Regions from separate parts of the Homo sapiens genome. Here all the other regions are linked to region 1. The links are contacts of gene promoters, found by promoter capture Hi-C in human tissues and cell types (Jung and others, 2019). All regions are on one chromosome and are shown on one strand. The core of a region is centred on a gene start or on the middle of the fragment in contact, and the rest is flanking DNA. Distances in the headings are between cores, read along the strand shown.

Region 1 (3,130 bases), core at 310-2,809:
TATATCCTGCAGCCCTTCCAGGAGAAAAGTCCTCTGATAAGTTACAAAGCATATGAATGTGAATACGTTTAATGTCCCAGCCTCCCTTACTCTCCTTAAAACTCAGAAAACAAACTAATGAATATGTAATTGAGAAACTTCAGGTGGCACACTGGGGTTGGTACTAGCTTAGGTAAACAGCCGCTCAGCCTTTTAGACCTATTCCCAACAAAAGCTTTTAATTTTCTAAGGATTTTTCCAGAGCTCTCGCCATACGTTTCCCACAACAGCCAGACCAAAGACCAAAACTGTCTTTCCCTGAGAAATATAGAGCATGTGAATCACTTTCTTCTGTTCCCAGTTCTGTGGCAGGCAAACACTGATTGCTCACTCATCATGTGCTACCTGGGCAAAACAGGAATATTAAGTAGGAAGAAAGGTTTATGTTAGGTAAGAGCGTGACTTAGGGCTCTCCTACTTTTTTACAAAATGGAGACCTGGCATTTGTAGCCTCCCACAATGATGTGCCCTGACATTACTTGGATATAGAAAGGTCAGTCTTAGGTGCGTCAGTGACAGCCCACCCCGCTCTGATCCAGAAATTTCAGATGACTTGCATCAGAGGATAAGCCTCTGGCATGTTAATAATGAAAAAATAGAGACAATCACTGCCCCAGCTCATCTCAAATTAGCATCAGTGCAGCGTTAGTACTTTGGTAGGGAGCTTTGCTGCTAAATTCATTCTCTGTAAAGAGGAGAGGCAGAGACAGGGTTAAGGGGAAAACTCCAAGACTGGAATCGCCAATACAATAAACTGTCGAACTGAGTTTTTTCTCCCGCAACCCTAAGATACTAGTAAGTCCTTCCTCTTAGCCAACCCTTTTCACCAGGGCACCGCAGTTTTCTTAGAAGGAGGGTGCTGGGTTTGTCTCAGGTCTTTCTATTCTCCTGCCCGCTGCCCTAGTACATCTGAAAAGGGAGCAGCGACTAGGAAAAGAGACACGTGGGTATTTTCCCATCCTGTCTAGTCATTCCCTGAATCATCACAAGTTATCGCACTTTTCCCCTTAGCCAGCAGCGTTCGAGACTTTCTCTCAAATAATACGGTCTTGTACTTAAAAGGAAGAGTGGTGGGAGAAGAGAGAGGCGGAGAAGACAAGCAAGAAGGGCGTGGAGTGCCGTTCCCGCCCCGGAGTCGGAGGCGCCGGGAGGCCGGACGCCGCGAAGCTGCTAGCCCAGGAATGTGCCGTCTAACTCGCAGGCCGCGGGCGGAGCGCGGCGGGCGCGCTGTGGTCTGCGGCGGGAGCGGGGCAGAGGACGGCTGGCGCAGGGCAGGCTGCAGCGGCGGGCCGGACGCGACGCCGCGCACCTGAGCGCCGGGGGCGGGGCGTCAGCGGCCACGACCCTTCCCACCGCGCGCCGCGCCCCTCGCGCGCCGCCTCGGCCTTTTCCGCTCGTGCTTCGGCGCCGCTCGGCTCCCTTCCCGCCCCTGGCTCCCTCCCTCCCTCCCTCCCTCCTTCTTCTCCCTCCCTCCTGTCCTGGGATTGCCTGGAGCTCCGCACCGCGAGTTTGCCGCGGCACTTTCCGCGCGGCGGAAGAGCGCGCGCCAGCTTCGGCACACCTGGGAGCCGGATCCCAGCCCTACGCCTCGTCCCCTACAAGCTCCTCCAAGGTAAGGCGCTCGCTCACACCCGGTCCTTTCCACGCTCGGCGGGACAGCTGGGTCCCCGCCTCCTCTGCGAACCGGCTAGGAGCTCCGCGCCTCGCCTTGGGAGTGGGGTTGTAGCTGACGGGGACCTCGGACCGGCGGTGGCTAGAGCGCGGAGCAGGCGATACGACGAGCCGACAGGTGGCGGGTCTAGCCCTAGTATCTCGACCGCCGCCGGCGCGGACCTTGGTGGGGATGGGGCGGGCGGGCCGACTTGGGGGTGGGGTCAGTCCTCTCTCCTCCCTTCTAGGGGCGGCGATCGTCGGGGTCCGTACTGTAGGTGCGTGGGAGAAACTTTGCAGGGTGGGGACCCGGCGGCTGCTGGCCGGTAGTGACTGGTGGGCGCGCTCGAGGACTCCAAGGGGCGCAGCCCGGGGGCAGACCCTTGGGTCGGGCGGGGATCTTACGCTTCCCTTACCCGCCCCCTTTTGTCTTTCACCTCAGCCCCGCCGGCTGCTGTGGGAGCGGCGGCCGTCCCTCTCCTGGAGGTCGTCTCCTGGCATCCTCGGGGCCGCAGGAAGGAAGAGGAGGCAGCGGCCGGAGCCCTGGTGGGCGGCCTGAGGTGAGAGCCCGACCGGCCCCTTTGGGAATATGGCGACCGGTGGCTACCGGACCAGCAGCGGCCTCGGCGGCAGCACCACAGACTTCCTGGAGGAGTGGAAGGCGAAACGCGAGAAGATGCGCGCCAAGCAGAACCCCCCGGGCCCGGCCCCCCCGGGAGGGGGCAGCAGCGACGCCGCTGGGAAGCCCCCCGCGGGGGCTCTGGGCACCCCGGCGGCCGCCGCTGCCAACGAGCTCAACAACAACCTCCCGGGCGGCGCGCCGGCCGCACCTGCCGTCCCCGGTCCCGGGGGCGTGAACTGCGCGGTCGGCTCCGCCATGCTGACGCGGGCGGCCCCCGGCCCGCGGCGGTCGGAGGACGAGCCCCCAGCCGCCTCTGCCTCGGCTGCACCGCCGCCCCAGCGTGACGAGGAGGAGCCGGACGGCGTCCCAGAGAAGGGCAAGAGCTCGGGCCCCAGTGCCAGGAAAGGCAAGGGGCAGATCGAGAAGAGGAAGCTGCGGGAGAAGCGGCGCTCCACCGGCGTGGTCAACATCCCTGCCGCAGAGGTGAGCCGGGCGGGGGCCGCAGCCGGACCGGGCCGGGGCGGGCAGCTGCCTCCCGGTGTCTTCCTCCTGGGAGCTACCCGGGGCGCAGAGTTTACCTCCCCTGGCTCGTACTTGTCCCTTCACCGAGTTAGGCAGGCAGGGGGTGATGGAGTTTTACTCTGAACAAATGCTTCCTGGGAAGTTCCCCAAACTCAGAGTAGGACACGTGCTTTTCAGGCTTCCTGGCCAGGTCTCAGATCCAGGATCCTTTTTTACCGTGGTAGAAAGACAACTTATGGCTCCAGGACTTGCCCACCTGGACTTGGCTGACTTGGCCACCTGGACTTGGCTGTTTAT
Region 2 (3,130 bases), core at 268-2,767, 1.1 Mb before region 1:
AGAATTAGGCTGAGCTCAGCCGGGCTGTTCTGGGTTTGACTGGCTGGGCCTCCCCATGTGCCTGTAATCAATTGAACATCAGCTAAGCAGCTCTGTTTCTGGGGTTGGCTGACTTCCAATTGAAGTGACTCAGCTTTTTTCCCCATGGTCTATTACCCTCAGTAGGCTAGTTTGGGCTTGTTCTCATAATAGAGGAAAAAATCTCAAGAGAGAGCAAAAGTCCACAAGACCTTCTGAGAGTTAGGCTCAGACAGGCAAAATGTAATTTCTATCACATTCTATTGGCCAAAACAAGTCACTAGCCCAGCCCAGAGTCAGCAACTGGGGGAAAAGTCTCTACCTCTTGATCATTGTAAAAGGCATTTATACACAGAGGAACAGAAAATTGGGCTGCTTTTGCAATCTACAACAGTGTTTTACCGAAATAAGATAATTAGAGAAGTATTTTGGGTAGACAAAGCTATACTTAACAGCTAACATTTATTGAGTTGTATTTTTTTTCTCTAATTTCATTTTTATCCTGACCTTTATCTTTTGTCAGAATACTTAACTTGCTAAAGTGTCTGACCCGTGTCCAATTGTTCTTCTCACAGGAAACTTATTTACACTGGCAAATGCCCTTGTGACTCTCACCAGACCTGTGAATAGTTTATTCCTACCAAGATAGCCACTCTGTAGGAGAGCCCTGACTGGAAAAGAAGTTAGGTTCGGGTATGTTGGTCGTGTGAGATGCAGAAGAGGCAGCACAACAAAACACATGGTATATTAATCCGTTTTCACACTGCTAATAAAGACATACCAGAGACTGGGTAACTTATACAGGGTAGATGTTTAATGGACTCACAGTTCCACATGGATGGGAGGCCTCACAATTATGATGGAAGGCAAGGAGGAACAAGTCACGCCTTACATGGATGACAGCAGGCAAAGAGAGAGCTTGTGCAGGGAAACTCCCCTTTTTAAAACCATCAGATCTCGTGAGACTTATTCACTATCACGAGAACAGCACAGGAAAGACCCACCCCCAAGATTCAATTACCTCCCACTGGGTCCCTCCCACAACATGTGGGAATTGTGGGAGCTACAATTCAAGATGAAATTTGGGTAGGGACACAGCCAAACTATATCACATGGAATAATAGAAGCAGTTTTATTACTCACATATACCCTAGAGAGAAGAGAGCAGCACATTTTTCAGGACCGACAGGAAGGAGGGAGTCCAGGACACACACTCAACTGTCAAGTGGGGAGCAAGAGAGATAGAGTAAGAGACCTGAGGTCCAAAGACTTTATTGGGGTTCAGGCCATTTCCTAGGTAGATTTCCGGTGGGGAGTTACAACTGGTGGGTTTAAGAGCAAGTGGGCAGTTTGATGCAGTCCTGCAGTGACTGAAAGGTGGTCACTGTGGCCTATCTACAAAGCACATGCCACATGTGGGAGTGGGTAGAGCAAGTAGGTTGAATGTAACTATCTCGTAGGGAAGTAGTCACCAGGAGGCAGTTAATGAGACAGATATCTGAATGAAACACCTTGAAAAACTGGGAAGAGGTGGAGAACTGAAAACTCTGTCAAGGGTGACTAAGCTCTGCCTCTTGTATGAGGAAGTCAAACCTATTAACTCATTGAATATGGAAAGTCAAGCCATTTACATTCAAAATGGATGTTGAAGCAACATACAATTATAAGAATTCATTATATTTGTACTTACTATGTGTCAAGTGCTGTTCTAAGAACTTCACATATATTAACAGATTTTAATTATTGTGATATCCTTTATTTCAGAGAAACAGACTACCTGCATATGAACGTTTAGGCAGGGTTTACTAATAGTAAAGGAAACCTAGCTGGGTCTAAAGTTAGGAATTCCCTGCACCCTGGGCTGTTGCTCCTCATTAGAAGTTAAGCTACCCAGCATAGTCACTGCTTAAGTTCCCAGCTGCCTATGTAGAATGTGACAAATAATAGGATAGTTTTGACTTTCTTCTTTCAATCCAATTGCAATCTACTGAGGCAAATATGATATGATATTATATGTTATAAGATCTCATGTTTACATATGAGAGTAATATGTTTTTATTGGGCCAGAATTATAGCTAAGATTTGAAGATGAAATAGAAGTTAACTGCATATTCCCATACTCTAAAGAAAGCCATTATATTAGTCTGTTCTCACTCGGCTAGGAAGAAATACTTGAGACTGGATAATTGACAAAGGGAAGAGGTTTAATTGACTCATAGTTATGGATTGCTGGGGAGGCCTCAGGAAACTTACAATCATGGCAGAAGGCAAACGAGAAGCAGTCACCTTCTTTACATGGCAGCAAGGCGGAGTGAGTATGTGTAGGGGAAATGCCAGATGCTTATAAAACCATCAGATCTCACAAGAACTCACTCACTATCATGAGAACAGCATGGGAGAAACTACCCCCATGATCCAATTACCTCCACCTGGACCTGTCCTTGACACATAGGGATTATGGGGATTACAATTTGAGATAAGATTTCAGTGGGGACACAGAGTCAAACCATATCATCCCTATACTATCTAAAAATAATAGCACTGGGCCCATTCAATTCAAAGCACCCTTCCTCTTCCATATATCAGATCAACAGAGAAATAAAAGTGTAAGAAATGATGTTTTTGGGAGAGGTTTTTCTATGTCCACCTTCACTCTTGCCCAGCCCAACCCATGTGAAGGAGAGGAGCTTAAAGATAAACTATCAGAAAAATTTAGTAGGGTTAACACTGGATCACCCAGATTCATAATAAATATTACTAGCTCTAAAGAGAGAGATAGACTGGAATATAATTAGAGTGGGGAAACTTCAGTACTTCACTCTCAGCATTAGCATTAGCATCTAGACAGAAAATCAACAAAGAAACATTGGATTTAAACTAAACTTTAGACCAAATGGACCTAACAGATGTTTAGAGAACATTCTATCCAACAACTGAAGAATATACATTCTTTTCTTTGGCGCATGGAGCATTCTCCAGGATAGACCATATGTTAGGCTACAAAATCAGTCTCAACAAATTTAAAAACTTAAAATCATGTCAAGTAACCTCTCAGACTACAATGGAATAAAACCAGAAATTAATACCAAGAGGAACTCTGGAAACTGTACAC
Region 3 (3,130 bases), core at 325-2,824, 1.1 Mb before region 1:
CTTCCTGCTGGTCTTCCCGATTCCAGGTCCCCCAGCCCCCACCTGGCCCCTGCCCTGCCCCAATCTATCCTCAACACAGCAGTTGGTCTCCAAAAGGAGTTGCTGTCTTTAAAGCAACTCCTTTAATAAAAGCATAAGTCAGACTGTGTCACTCCTCTGCTTAGAACCCTGTAATGACCCTTTAGAGTAAAAACAGATTCTTTTAAGAGCCTTCAAGGCTTTTTGTGATCTATCTCTCTCTTACTCCTCTGCCACATGTCCTACTAGCCCCGCTTAGCTCACTCCCCTCCAACCACATTGGCCCCTGAGCTGTTTCTCAGGAACATTGGGTATGTCTACCTTAGGACATTTGAGCTAGCCTTCTCTCTGCTTAGGATACTTTCTTCGAGACAACTGCTGGGCTAATTCCTGCAGATCCTTCAACACTTCGTTGGGATCTTGTTTTCACAGTATGGCCTACTCTATCTACTTTATTTAATATTTTCCTTTGTTCGTCAGTATTTATTAGCTTCCAACATGCATATCTGTGTCTGTATCTGCCCCCTGCACTAGCCCTTCTCTTTCTCTCTTCTGTGCTGCTTATTTTTCATTGTTTCCCTCTTCTGAATTAAAAACTTTACAAAGGCAGAGATTTTAATCTGTTTTATTCATCGGTGTGCCCCCACTTCCTAAAAAACTCAATAAATATTTGCTGAATAATTGAATGGGTGGGAAGGAGGAAAGAGTAATGTGTAGAGCGGATCTGAGAAACATTGAAGATGATTTATTGAGCACTGTTCTTACTTGTTTTCCCCTTTAATATAAGATTGACAAAATGCAAGCCTCGGTTCTATCACAATTTCTTGTCTAGAAGTTACTCTTCAAATACCAGGAGTAGATGGTGAAACACAACCCTCATATCACCCGTTGAGTATAACTGGGCCAGAACAATAACAATAAGAATAATATGAAACAATAAATAGGTAGACAAGAAAATGGCAAATTCTTTGAATGTCGCTTCGAGGTAAGTCAGTAGTTTTCCCATGCTTCAGGGTTAAAAGGATTCAGAAAGCACTACCCCAGAGTATGCTGCCTTGGCATATTGACGATTTCAAACAGAAGGAATTTGAGAAACAGCAGGTGCAGGAAGGACTCTCTGAGCTTCTTCCCCTTAAGCAGGTCATGAGACTCTCATGTGAGAGGTGCACTCCCTGTACCTGGAGGAAAGGAGCATCCTGATCTCTGAAGATGGAGAGTTACCAGGAGGAATCTGAAAGAACAGACTTTGCTAAATGTCCCCCACTTTACTACACTTAGCCCTTTCTCCTATGATATCTTTTTGTACTATCAAATTTTCCCAAGACTCTCCACTCTTCATCACACCTAGCATAAAACCATTCAAGATTAACAGTCTCTTGAGGTCTTTATTTCCTTAGGAAGGCTCCTGTGTCATGTGAAACTTATAGTAAATAAATTAGTGTGTTTTTCTCTTGACAATCTGTCTTTCGTCGGTCTAATTTACAAGACTCCATTCAATGAGCCTAAGATGTGTAGGAAAGAAAAGGGTTTTTTTTTTTCTTGCCCTACAAGGTCTAACAATCTAGTTCATCAAATATAAGTTCACATTTGTATTAGTTCTCAGGAAAACTGGTTTGGATCCAGCCTATTAAAAAATTGCCTCAGAAGAAGTTAAAACTGATAATTTAAAAGACCAGTAAACATATACTGAGTGAGATATAAGCAGTGTGTGAGTTGCGAGTGGGAAAAAATAAAAAAGACACTGTCTTTGCCCAGTAAGTGGTTATAATTGGGTAGGAGACACAAAGATGTAACAGCAATAATTACAATCCTCTGTAGAATGTGATAAATGCTATAATAAAGGTACAAAAATGTATAAAACAACAATAGAATAGATTAATTACAATACTTTGAGATATTCATTTTTTTGAATTTTATTTTAAATGTGTTTTTATTTCTTGCAAGACGGTTCAACTAAACTGACCTCGGTCAACAACAAAAAATTGCTATGAGTTTTATTTTATGTTACCAGACTCTATTCTCTTCATTTCCCACTACCTCAGTTTGTTTAAGCAATGCTTTGAAAAGTACAAACTCCTGAACCCTAAAGCTTTAAAGAGTATTTTTAATCTAGTAATTCCCCATAATCTAAAGTGCTAACAAGACTCAATTCAATTCGTTTTATTATCTAAGGTTGAAATTAATCAGAAAATATAGTGTAGATCCCATAAAACACAATTCTTGCACCTACTGAAATACTGAATACTATTATCTGATCGAATTTCATTTAGATGATCACACTTATACAACCAGAACAAAAATTATGATGAAATTCCTACACTAACATTCCCTATTTCAGTTATTCACTGAAATGTTATTATTCATAACATTAGAATCAGAAACTTGGGAATTATTTTGAAATCTTTCTTTTCTTCCTCTCATCCAATAGTCAATCAATCACACAGTCTTTCCAATAAATCTCTTGGTCTCTTTACTGTTATCCTAATCCAATCTACTACCTTATCTTTTTTTTCCAACATAAAATTCTATTTTATTTTATTTTCAACTGTCAGATAATAATTGTATGTATTTATGGGATGCAGTGTGATATTTCAAAATACATATACATTGTGGAATGATCAAATCAGTAATTAGCATATACATCAACACAAATATTTATCATTTCTTATGGTGAGAACATTTAACATTCTCTCTTTCAGCTATTTTGAAACATACAATATATTATTAATAACTGTAGTCACCTTACTATCCAACAGAATGCCAGAAATTATTCCTTCTGTTTAATTGTACCCTCTTACCTGTTGATCAGTGTCTCCTCTATCCCTATTTACTCCCAAACTCCCATGTCTAGTAACCATTATTCTACTCTTTACTTCTGTGAGTTCAACTTTTTTAGATTCCTCATGTAAGTGAGACCGTGTGGTGTTTTTTTCTCTGTGTTTGGATTATTTCATTTATCTTAATGTCCTCTAGGTTCATCCACATTGTCACAAATGAAAAAATTTTGTTTTTTTTTTAAAAGGCTGAATAGTATTCCATTGTGTGTGTGTGTGTGTGAGTATATATATATGTATATATCACATTTTTAATCCATTCATTTGTTGATGGACAT

The links. The method cuts DNA at HindIII sites, captures the fragments that hold promoters and counts their contacts. A contact is called where the count stands out against the background at its distance.
Region 2: a contact is called between a fragment that was not itself captured here and the fragment with the promoter of PAWR in region 1, in 1 of the 25 tissues and cell types used here (IMR-90 fibroblasts).
Region 3: a fragment that was not itself captured here is called in contact with the fragment with the promoter of PAWR in region 1 in 1 of the 25 tissues and cell types used here (lymphoblastoid cells).

The regions. Positions count from the first base shown.
Region 1 is chr12:79,689,393-79,692,522 of GRCh38, reverse strand. It overlaps PAWR (pro-apoptotic WT1 regulator), which reads left to right and starts at 1,559. Exons shown (of 7, transcript NM_002583.4): 1 at 1,559-1,651; 2 at 2,132-2,794. The coding sequence starts at 2,279. PPP1R12A-AS2 (PPP1R12A antisense RNA 2) reads right to left here and starts at 2,491. Exons shown (of 7, transcript NR_187531.1): 1 at 2,127-2,491. RefSeq lists silencers at 1,262-1,561, 2,332-2,851. The HindIII fragment of the contact is 10,737 bases long and covers 1-3,130 here.
Region 2 is chr12:80,775,297-80,778,426 of GRCh38, reverse strand. No RefSeq gene overlaps it. Among named protein-coding and RNA genes, the nearest start is that of LINC01490, 14 kb to the right of the region's middle. RefSeq lists enhancers at 33-262, 1-706. The HindIII fragment of the contact is 6,837 bases long and covers 1-3,130 here.
Region 3 is chr12:80,758,757-80,761,886 of GRCh38, reverse strand. No RefSeq gene overlaps it. Among named protein-coding and RNA genes, the nearest start is that of LINC01490, 2.8 kb to the left of the region's middle. The HindIII fragment of the contact is 5,402 bases long and covers 1-3,130 here.